4 separate regions of the Homo sapiens genome follow, and regions 1, 3 and 4 are each linked to region 2. Evidence: promoter capture Hi-C in 16 types of primary human blood cells and fetal thymus (Javierre and others, 2016). All regions are on one chromosome and are shown on one strand. The core of a region is centred on a gene start or on the middle of the fragment in contact, and the rest is flanking DNA. Distances in the headings are between cores, read along the strand shown.

Evidence for each region. Contacts are between HindIII fragments. The CHiCAGO score rates a contact against its expected background, and 5 or more counts as called.
Region 1: a fragment that was not itself captured here is called in contact with the fragment with the promoter of SEMA5B in region 2 in 2 of 17 cell types (M2 macrophages and M1 macrophages); the score reaches 12.3 in M2 macrophages.
Region 3: a contact is called between a fragment that was not itself captured here and the fragment with the promoter of SEMA5B in region 2, in 1 of 17 cell types (M0 macrophages). The highest score is 5.6, in M0 macrophages.
Region 4: a contact is called between a fragment that was not itself captured here and the fragment with the promoter of SEMA5B in region 2, in 9 of 17 cell types (M2 macrophages, naive CD4 T cells, naive B cells and 6 more). The highest score is 11.5, in M2 macrophages.

What each region holds. Positions count from the first base shown.
Region 1 is chr3:122,741,301-122,744,000 of GRCh38, reverse strand. The region is part of intron 6 of HSPBAP1 (HSPB1 associated protein 1); the gene reads left to right. Among named protein-coding and RNA genes, the nearest start is that of HSPBAP1, 51 kb to the left of the region's middle. The HindIII fragment of the contact is 2,946 bases long and covers 1-2,700 here.
Region 2 is chr3:123,026,510-123,029,209 of GRCh38, reverse strand. It overlaps SEMA5B (semaphorin 5B), which reads left to right and starts at 1,447. Exons shown (of 23, transcript NM_001031702.4): 1 at 1,447-1,746. RefSeq lists an enhancer at 336-843. The HindIII fragment of the contact is 2,453 bases long and covers 539-2,700 here.
Region 3 is chr3:122,714,136-122,716,835 of GRCh38, reverse strand. It overlaps PARP14 (poly(ADP-ribose) polymerase family member 14), which reads right to left. Exons shown (of 17, transcript NM_017554.3): 12 at 2,407-2,574. Among named protein-coding and RNA genes, the nearest start is that of PARP14, 35 kb to the right of the region's middle. The HindIII fragment of the contact is 1,144 bases long and covers 754-1,897 here.
Region 4 is chr3:122,761,298-122,763,997 of GRCh38, reverse strand. The region is part of intron 3 of HSPBAP1 (HSPB1 associated protein 1); the gene reads left to right. Among named protein-coding and RNA genes, the nearest start is that of HSPBAP1, 31 kb to the left of the region's middle. The HindIII fragment of the contact is 5,963 bases long and covers 1-2,700 here.

The DNA of each region.
Region 1 (2,700 bases), core at 63-2,562, 290 kb after region 2:
CATTCTGTTGCCCAGGCTGGAGTGCAGTGGTGCAGTCATAGCTCACTGCAGCGTCAAACTCTTGGCCTCAAGCAGTACTTCCACTTTGGCCTCCAAAAGTGCTGGGATTACAGGCATGAGCCACCATGCCCAGCCTAGAATTTTATCAGTAACTTGCATTTGTGCTGTGTTCTTCCCAATCCCTTTCCTGTCTGTTCCGTTCACTCTCCTCATTCTCTTGTTTAAACAAAAAAGTTTTGTCACATTATCTGTCCATCTATCCATCTGTCTTATCTCTGTACACATATGCACACATATATATTTTTTTCTATTGGTTCTCTTTCTTTGGAGAACCTTGACTGATATACCATATGACCCAGCAATTCCATTCCTAGGTGTATACCCAAGAAAAATGAAAATATATGTCCACACAAAAACTTTTTTTTTTGTTGTTTGAGACAAAGTTTCGCTCTTGTTGCCCAGGCTGGAGTGCAATGGCTCGATCTCGGCCCACCGCAACCTCCGCCTCCCAGGTTCAGGCAATTCTCCTGCTTCAGCCTCCTGAGTAGCTGGGATTAAAGGCATGCACCACCAGGCCCAGCTAATTTTGTATTTTTAGTAGAGACGGGGTTTCTCCAAGTTGAAGCTGGTCTCGAACTCCTGACCTCAGGTGATCCACCCGCCTTGGCCTCCCAAAATGCCAGGATTACAGGTGTGAGCCACCGTGCCTGGCCCACACAAAAACTTCTACACGAATGTTTACAGTAGTAGTATTCATAATAGCCCAAAGTGACACAACTCAAATATCAATCATCTGATGAGTGGATAAACAAAATGTGGTATATGTGTACAATGGAATGTTTTTCAACTATCACAAGGAATGAAATACTGATGCATGCTATAGCCTGGCTAAATCTTATGGTATATAATGAATCTAATGTTATGTGTTATGTCTGTATCTGGTTATCTGACTGTATCTTCTGTTGGTTCTGTTTCTCTGAGGAACTCCGATACACCATATGATCCAGTAATCCCATTCGTATGAGTATATACGTAGATAGATATCTTTACATGATGTCTACATGTACGTAAATGTAGATATCTATAAATACATAGATAGAAATGTCTGTATTTATATAGAGAACAAGAGATTGAGATTTACTTTAAGGAATGGGCTTACTTGATTGTAGTGGCTGGCATGTCTGAAATTTGTAGGGCAGGCTGGCAGGCTGGAAACTCACATAGGACTTCTATTACAGTCTTGAGGCAGAATTTTTTTCTCTAAGACATCTCAGTTTTTGCTCTTAAGGACTTCAACTAATTGGGTAAGGACCACATACATTATTGAGTATAATCTCCTTTACATAAAGTCAGTTGATTGTAAATGCTAATAATATCTTCAAGTTATCTTCACAGCAACATCCAGATTATTGTTTGACCAAACAACTGGGTGCTATTGTCTAGCCACCTTGACTCAAAATTAATCATTACATATGGTAACTCTGTGTTTAACCTTTTGAGGAACTCCCAGGTTTCTGAAGCACCATTTTACATTCCCACCAGCAATGTATGAAGATTCTGATTTCTCTGCATCCTCACCAACACTTGTTAATATCTGTCTTTTTTTTATTAGCACTATCCTGGTGTGAAGTCATATCTCATCATGGAGATTTGCTTTTTTAAGTTCAATATTGTGTTTCTAAGATTCATTTGTGTTGTCACATGTAAGCTGTTCATTCCTTTTCACTGTGATATAATACTGTGTTAAGGTAGCCCATAATTTATTCATTATTAATATTTATTCATTGTTACTATTTTAGTTACTATTCATATATTAATATATGTATATATATCAATAATTTATTATATTTATAATAATTTATATATTATTCATTGTTCTATTGATGGATGATTCAGTGTTCAATTTTTTGCTTCTATGAACAGAATATTCTTGTACATGTTTCCTGGCACACATGTGCAAAAGTTTATCTAGACTGTGTATAAATCTCAGAGTGGTATTGCTGGTCCATAGGGTATACAATACTCAAGTTTACGAGATAATGCCACCCATGTTTTCCAAATGTCTCTATCAGTTTGCTTTCCCATTAGTGTATAAGACTTTTGTCTCTCAATGTCCCACTTGGAACTATCAGGCCCCTTTTTGCCAATTTCATGGATTTCTCAATTTGCACTTCCCTGGAGGCTAAACATATCTTCATATGTTTATTAGTCCTCTGATTGCTCCTTTTTAAAATGCTTATCATTGTGTCTTTTGCCCATTTTTTAAAATTTGCTCATTTCTCTTATTGATATGTGTAGATTATTCTACACATTAATATTTTATCAGTTATATATGTTACAGGCATCTAGTTTGTTTTTTTCCTTTGTGGTGTTTTTTCGTAAACAGAAGTTGTTGATTTTAATGCAGTTCCTCATTAATGCTATACCTTATATTTACTCTGTCTTAAAGCCACGTTTAGATGGATAGCCATCTCATTCTTGTAGCCAAGCATGTTTATTGTAATTTTTCTTCCATCTCTGAAATAATTTGCTTGTCAGACTCTATAGGGATTATTCCTCTGTATGTGGTACTTTAAAAAAAAAACTTTAAACATGTCAAATAATGGAAAAGATTGGAGAAAATATCATAAGGTGATTCATACTTAAGGCCATGACTTATAGATAGAATACATACTTAAATTTGATTGGTGAAATATTCTG
Region 2 (2,700 bases), core at 198-2,697:
CTGCACATTATGAGTTTCAGCATTTCTGTTGCCCTAGAAAGTCTATCTTTGAGATCTTGCACTGTTTCTCTTTTTACAGTGTCTCATAAACTCCCTTCTTGGATTCAGAACCACCCTTTCTTTCCCATTATCCTGTCAAACTGCTTCTTGCCATGGTCCAGGGGTAGGAGGATGGCAGGCAGGAGGTGCTTCTCTGGGGCTCTTAGTGTCTCAATTCTTCTGCTTTATCTGGGTTTTCCTTTACCCAGAATTTTATTATGTAAAATGCTTCACTCAGACTTTGTTCTAATTATCCAATTTTTGGCATACTCTAGAAAGTCTTTTGATATTTTCCTTCCTCCAACTTATCTATTTTTATTTCATAGTTCTCTTTGGTTATCTCTTAGAATCACACTTTCCTGGTTTTAATTTTTCAAATCCTTTGTCTTTCTCACTCGTTCTTAGGTCACCTTTTTTTACATTTTCAAATATATTTTTTGTTCAGCAGAGGGCTCCCTTCCCATCCCTCTTGCAGCCCGGGCAGCTAGGATTTGAAGCTTGCCCCTTGAATCTTTCTCTCCCGCCTTCTAGCCATCAGAAACACTAGATCACTTAAACTTGTAAACAATTCGGCCTCGCTCCTTGTGATTGCGCTAAACCTTCCGTCCTCAGCTGAGAACGCTCCACCACCTCCCCGGATCGCTCATCTCTTGGCTGCCCTCCCACTGTTCCTGATGTTATTTTACTCCCCGTATCCCCTACTCGTTCTTCACAATTCTGTAGGGTGCGTATTACTAACCCCAGTTTACAGCTGAGGAAACTGAGGCTTGGAGAGGTTCGCTCGGTATCGTACAGTTTGCAAGGTTAACCCTAATCCGGCCAGTTCTGGCTTTCCAGCCCAGCCCAGCAGCCTAGCCTCCCTCTCTGCCGCTGCAGGTTATAACGGCTCTCCCCCGTTTTACACGAGGTCCCTTCCCCTTCAAATCCACAGGCAGGAAGATCGTTCCGAACTGACGGGGCTGGGGAATGTGGGAGTCCGGAGTGGGGTTTGGGGGAGCTTCCTCAGGCCCTGAGTGTTGGGGTGGGCAGGCCGCGCCGATGGCCCTCGGGGATGTCACATTCGAGATGGGGTGACCGAGAACGGCAAGGCGGGATGTGGCAAACGGCGGCAAGTGCTCGGAGTCCTAGGTCTTGCCGCCGGAATGCCGGCCGGGGAAGGGGCTTCGGCCCACCGGGCTGGTCACCACACTCGGCAGGCCCGGGGCGGGAGTCGGCCGAGCAGCCGCGGGATGCAGGGCGCCCCCTCGCGCTCCTCCGCGCGCCTCGAGGCTGGCGGGTGCAGCGCCCGCCGCGGCAGGTCTGCTCCAGCCCCCTCCTCTTTTTCGCTCCCGCTCCCCTCCTTCTCTCCCTTTGCTTGCAACTCCTCCCCCACCGCCCCCTCCCTCCTTCTGCTCCCGCGGTCTCCTCCTCCCTGCTCTCTCCGAGCGCCGGGTCGGGAGCTAGTTGGAGCGCGGGGGTTGGTGCCAGAGCCCAGCTCCGCCGAGCCGGGCGGGTCGGCAGCGCATCCAGCGGCTGCTGGGAGCCCGAGCGCAGCGGGCGCGGGCCCGGGTGGGGACTGCACCGGAGCGCTGAGAGCTGGAGGCCGTTCCTGCGCGGCCGCCCCATTCCCAGACCGGCCGCCAGCCCATCTGGTTAGCTCCCGCCGCTCCGCGCCGCCCGGGAGTCGGGAGCCGCGGGGAACCGGGCACCTGCACCCGCCTCTGGGAGGTGAGTCCCGGGAGCCCCGGGCGCTTCCCCTGCGCGGGTTGGGGCTGCAACTTGCAAACTTCAGCAACTCGGGTGGGTATCGGGGTAGAGAGGTAGGGGTCCGGGCTCTGGCAAGTTGAAGCCAGGTAGGTGAGGCTGCGGGCGGGAGGACAGGGGGTCCCCTGGCTTCCGCGCCTCCCGCTGCCACCTCGGCTTGAGAGCCCTCATCGCTGCTGCGTTCCCGCCGCCAGCCAGCTTGGGTCCGGGTTGCACTGGGCCCTGCCAGGGCTGTGGTCGGCGCATCTGGGCTGCAGCGGCGATGGGGACCCGGGACCCAGGCCTGGAGAAGGAGACGGACGAGTGAGGCTGAGGGACGGAGGGACAGAGGTGCGGAGATGGAGGCTCAGAGAGGGCCGGCTAGTAAACAGCACTGAGGGAGAGTGCGGGCGGCGAGGCGCGTGGGAACGCGTGGCCCGCCCAGAGTGTGAAATCTCCCGCTCAGGGACGTCCCTGCTCCACCGCCGCCGCCTGCGGAGCCGCCGCCCGGATTCTTCCCAGACCCGCCTCCAGGACACTCTTGCCCTGACCAGGCCTGCGGAGCGTGAACTCTGCCCACCAGGCTCCAGGGGCAGTGGCTCAGGGCCCCGCACTCCCGGCTGGGAGGGTGGAGAGGGGTGCGGCAGCTGGAAGCAGGGACGCGAGCGGCGATTTCCCGATTTATGTTTCTCATGGTAATTTGTCTTTGTGGTTGGGGCTGCCCATTCACTTTCCGCTCACGTCCTGCGGGAGATCCAGCGAGGAGGGAGGGAGCGGGGGGCGCTCGGGCACAGAGAGGGATGCAGACGGGAGAGGGGATCGGGGACCCGCGCGGGGCGGGAGCCAAGAGGGAAGTGGTCGCCGGACCGGCGGAGGAAGAAGGCGAGGCTCGAGAAAACCCGGCCCAACGGAGCCGACTCCTTTGCCCACCGCAAACTT
Region 3 (2,700 bases), core at 76-2,575, 310 kb after region 2:
ATGTAATGGGTATATGTTCAGCCTGGCACGTATGCAGAACAGACCTAGTTTTGAGGAAGTTAAGTCTGGAGGGGTATGGAGGAAGCATGGAGCGGGGAGCCCAGGTCTAGTTAGGACGCTGTAATAAAAGCTTAGTCAAAAGACAAGAGCTGAACAAAAAGAGGAGGCCAGAATGAAGAATAGGGATTGAGGAGCTATTTTGGAAGTAAAGTCAGGAGTACCTAGGGACCAGCTGGGTTTGTCCTTCACCTTTCCCTCTCTGTCTTTTGCCATACACATACCTTCACTATATCATGGTTCACGTTGCATTGCAGTTGTTTGTTTGCATGCCTGTCTCTCACACTGGGCTCAGTGCTCCTTGTGAACTGGATCCTTTTCTTAGTTATCTTTCTATCTCCAGAGCCTAAACATGGTGCCTTGCAGATGCAGGCACTCAGTAAATATTCAATCAAATAATTCCTAAGCTAATGAAGATCGGAGTGACGAAGAGGGTAGAGTCAAGGACTCTAGATGGAAAGTGATGTTTTTCACGTGATTGGGGATATAAGAGGAAGGGCAGGTTTGGGGAGATGACAAGGAATGAGAGTTTGGAGTCTGCGTTGAGCTTGAGGTGATCACAGGTATTGCTAACCACCTAATCTCTCCTCTTATGCAGGTGTCTTTAAGGAACAGAGAGGAGGCTCCTTTAACTGCCAGAGGCTGTCTTGATCACAGTCTTAATTCAACTCATATACACCACTAAAAGAGAAAGCTTCTACATCTATCAGTCTCAGAACCAGCTCAGGTGGTGATAAAGATAGGTAAAGAGGACATGCAAGGATAACCCACTAACCCTGATTTATTTGTGCTGACCAGCAATGCAACCAGGTCAGTGGAAGAAACAACAGGATTTGTTGTTGAGTCCAGAATTGAGTCCAGAAATGCTCAAATGTGTACATATTTATACAAAACGAAACCTACCTTCTTTCTTTGTTTCTTCTTTTGACTCTACCAGGGACTCCTTTGGGAAGGTCTGTGGCACCCCTAAGCTGCTTGCTTTCTTGGCCCAAATCAACTGAAGGTGGAAACCCAAGACTAGAGCTCAGAGAAAAAAACAGATGGAGACAGAGACTGAGGAGTCATTGGTGGGTGTCCATAAAAGATAAGTCAGTAGAGAGATGATAGAGATAGATAGACAGATCGATAGATAGATAGATAGATAGATAGATAGATAGATAGATAGATAGATAGATAGATAGATGACTGGTAGAGAGAGATAGGAGAAATGTTGGCTAATCTGCTAGGAATAGATGATACTCTAAGGGGAATGAAAACAAAGGGATCAAAAATTATACTTTTAGAAATAGAAAAGTTGTAAAATAGACATAGAATTCCATCTCGGAACATTATAAGAAATGGTACAGAATTACAGATATGGGTCAGAGGGTTAGAAGAAGGCCCAGAAATTGACAAGGATGGTTAAGTTTATTGAGGATAACCTTTTGGAAAGCCTAGAATGCCAGCATAAGAGATTCAAACTTAGATTCCCGAGCAACAGAATGACAGATCCGATGCTGACTATTCTCGCACTGGAACAAGGCAGCTCCGTTGACTTCAAGCCTAAGAATGCATGCCTCCCCTGACCAGCTCTCTGAAGGAGACCAAGCAGGGATTCCTAAAGAGCTCAAAGAACACCTGTGCAACAAAACTGCACATTCTGCCCATGTACCCCAGTATAATTAAAAAAAAAAAACCACCTAATTAATGATAAATCCAGAGCGCCATCCTTATATATGAAAAATCACGCTATCATTACCTAGTTTTAGGAAAAGAAGAAAATCAAAGAAGCAAGTAGGCTGAAAAGAGGAAAGTGGAGAGTTGAGTTTCTGACCCACTAGGTTCTGGTGACTGAGAAGCTTCTACACAGAAATGCCCTGAGGCCAAGTGACACAGCTGACTGTTGAGCTGAAGCCTGGTAATATTCCTCTGGGAATCAGCTAGAGTGAGGTGGAAGTTGTTGTACTAATATTCTCCATGGAGAGGGGAAAGAGGAGGAAGCTAAGGACTGCATAATGGAGAATATGTAGGGAATGGAAAAAGGGAAAGTAACTGAGGAAAGAGAATGAGGGATGGCCTTTCCACTCTCTCCCTTCTCTTCTCCTCCTTATTTTCCCTTCCCTTCTTTCTGCCTCTCTAACATTCTAACACTCTCTTCAGTCTCCTGCATTTTGTCCCTCTTTTACTCAAACAATCCACAGGCTTTGTCATTCCCTTGGGAGTTGTCTTATGGGGAGGAAGCTGTCCACTCCTAGCTTAATGGTTGCTGCCCTGGGTCAGACTCAGCACTGACCGCATTCACACTCAGCTCCAAATGAAAGGGAAAGTAGATGGCTTGGGATTTAGCCTTGACAGCCAGAGGCTACGAACCTGTCCCAATGGCTGGGAGGCAAATGGATGAGTAATTTTTTTTTTCACACTCCTGCAAAACAGAGGAAACTGAACTCTTGACATCATTTCCACCAATTACATGAATGATATTCTTGCACCTCAAAAATCCACCTCCGGTGATTATATAATCATTTTTGCGCTGCTGAGCTGGGAAACACAGACAAAAAGATGCAAAATTAGTAGAAGTTGAACCCGTCATTTGTTTAGAAAGCAAAATGTATAACTTGGCAAGTAAGCATTTTGTGAAAAAAAAAAAACTCCTGAAATACTATC
Region 4 (2,700 bases), core at 98-2,597, 270 kb after region 2:
GCCCTAAAACATAGAACTTTAACAGGCAGAAATTGAAGGGGGCATGAGCAGAGGCCAGGAGGGAAGAGAGAACATAGGTCAGTGGGGAGATTGGACAGGGCCTTGCGTGGAGCAGACAGGCGGCATCAGCCATACTTGGGAGGGTCTTAAATGCTATCCTTATATAATTTTAACTTATAAAATGTTTGTGAACATGATTAAAGTATTTTAATTTTAATCTGGAGTATGATTTAAAATGTATTTTCATAAGAAACTGTTTTAGAATTACTTAGAGGAGGAGTCAGAACAGAAAAAAATAGAGTAATTACAGTTGTGATGTTGTAAACCAGAGTGGCCCATAGACCCCTGGGGGTCCCTGACACCCTTTCAGAGGATCTTTGAGATCAAAATTATTTTCATAATACTTCTAAGATGATACTTGCTTATTTCACAGTGTTGACATTTGCACTGATAATACAAATGCAATGGTGAACAAAACTGCTAGTGTCGAGACAGTGGGACCAAAGTGTACTAATAGTATTGTATTAAAAAAAAACACACACAGCTTTATTGGGGTATAACTGATATGTAATAAACAGCATATATTTAACGTGAACAGTTTGATTAAGTTTTACATATACCTACACCCAAGAAACCATCACCACATTCAAGATGACAGACATTTTGATCATGTCCAGAAGGTTCCCAGTGTCCCTTCCTAACCTGTCTCTCCCTACACCCTCATTCTCAGACACCACTGATCTACTTTCTGTCACTGCAGGTTAGTTTGGCAGTTCTAGAATTTCATAAAAATGGAATCATATAGTAAGTACTCCTTTTTCATGCTAACACTAATCAAAGGAGGAGACAGACATAGTTAACATCAGAACAAGTAAACCCAAGGTAGAGAGGGTATTTCATCACAATAAAAGGTCACTTCACCAAGCTGATATAATAATCCCAGATGTGTATGAACCCAATAACAGTTTCAAAATACATGAACAAAACTGACCAACCTAAAATGAGAAAAACACAAATACACAATTATAGTAGGGGGATTTCAATACCTCTGTCTCTATAATGGGTAAAACAAATATACAGAAAATCAGTAAGGATACAGGAGACTTGAACAATCAACTTGATTTAATTGACATTTATAAAACACTCCACCCAACAACAGAAAACACTATTTCCAAGTGCATATGGAATCTTTATCAAGATTGATTATATTCTGGGCCATAAAACAAGTTTCAATAATTTAAAAGGATTTAACTCATACAAATTATGTTCTCTCACCACAACAGAATTAAATTAAAAATTCATGACAAAAAGATAGCTGAAAAATCCCCAAAAATTTGAAATTAAACATTACACTTCCAAATAATCCATAAGTCAAATAGTAAATCACAAGGAAAATTAGGAAATATTAGGCTAGTCCTTGACTATAAGTCAAGGCTGAAGAGATATGCTAAGCAACAGTCTGCAAGTAAGAGACAGGGAGGCCCAATATTAGCCTTGGTATAATTTAGTTGCTTAAAAAGAAAAGTGCCGTCTGACAGTGCATTAATGGTATGATGTGCGGGTCATGGAATGTTACAATTCCATGGATACAGGTTCTGTGTAGACTGTATCTGGGGTTCAGTTTGGGAGCCAGGCTTTAGGGCTGTTGACAAAGTAAAGGAAATTGAGAGAAGAGCAATTGGAAGGAAAAGTTAATGCTGCTGTGTCTAGGTTAAAAAAAAAAAAAGATAAAGGAGAAGTTGGACAGTTTTCTGATAAAAATAGCAATTTTTGGCAGGAAATAAACTTGTTCTCTTTAGTTATAGAAAGCAGATCTAGGACCCTCCTCTGTAAGCTACCAGGAAGTAGATACTGATTTTGTAGTAAGTGGTCAACTAGCTAGCTACTTGTCGCTCTTTTCAGGGATGGTGTAGAATAGAACTTGCTGAGAATAGATGATTTTTAAAGATTTTTCCAACTCTTGAGGTATGTATGAGTAGACTCCAGAACAGATCACCCCACTGATCACCCTTTTTGGTTTTACAGATGCAGCACTCAAACAGGGCCTCCTGTTTCTAGCAAGACTCAAGACAGATTCCTGGGCCCACATTGACTTCAGACATTTGACTACCCATAAGTGGCTGAACTTAATTGGGAAGAGAATCCCAACTCTCAATGCTGTCTATTTTTACACTGACAATTTTGCTTTTTTTTTTTTTTTTTTGAGACAAGGTCTTGCTCTGTCACTCAGGCACTCAGGCTGGAGTGCTGTGGTGCAAACATAGCTCCCTGAAGCCTTGACCTCCCAAGCTCAAGTGATCCTCCCTTCTCAGCCTCCCAAGTAGCTGGGACCACAGGTGCATGCCACCACGCCCAGCCAATTTGTTAAAAAAAAAAAAAAAACCTTTTTGTAGAGACAGAGCCTCACCAAACATTGCCCACGCTGGTCTTGAACTCCTGGACCCAGGCAGTCCTCCCACCTCAGCCTCCCAGAGTGCTGGGATTACAGGCATGAGCCACTGCACCTGGCTGACAGTTTTGCTTTTTAAGTCATTATTACTGTTAGACAGGAGGCCAGGGAAGTCTCTCCTCAGTTTCTCATACAGTAACCTCACCCTGTAGAAAAACCTTCAGTGATTCTTTCCAAAGCAGGGCTCTAGAACAGGGTTTTTCATGTGGGGTTGGTCTGTCACCTCTTTGAAAGTATATATAAAGTTTCGT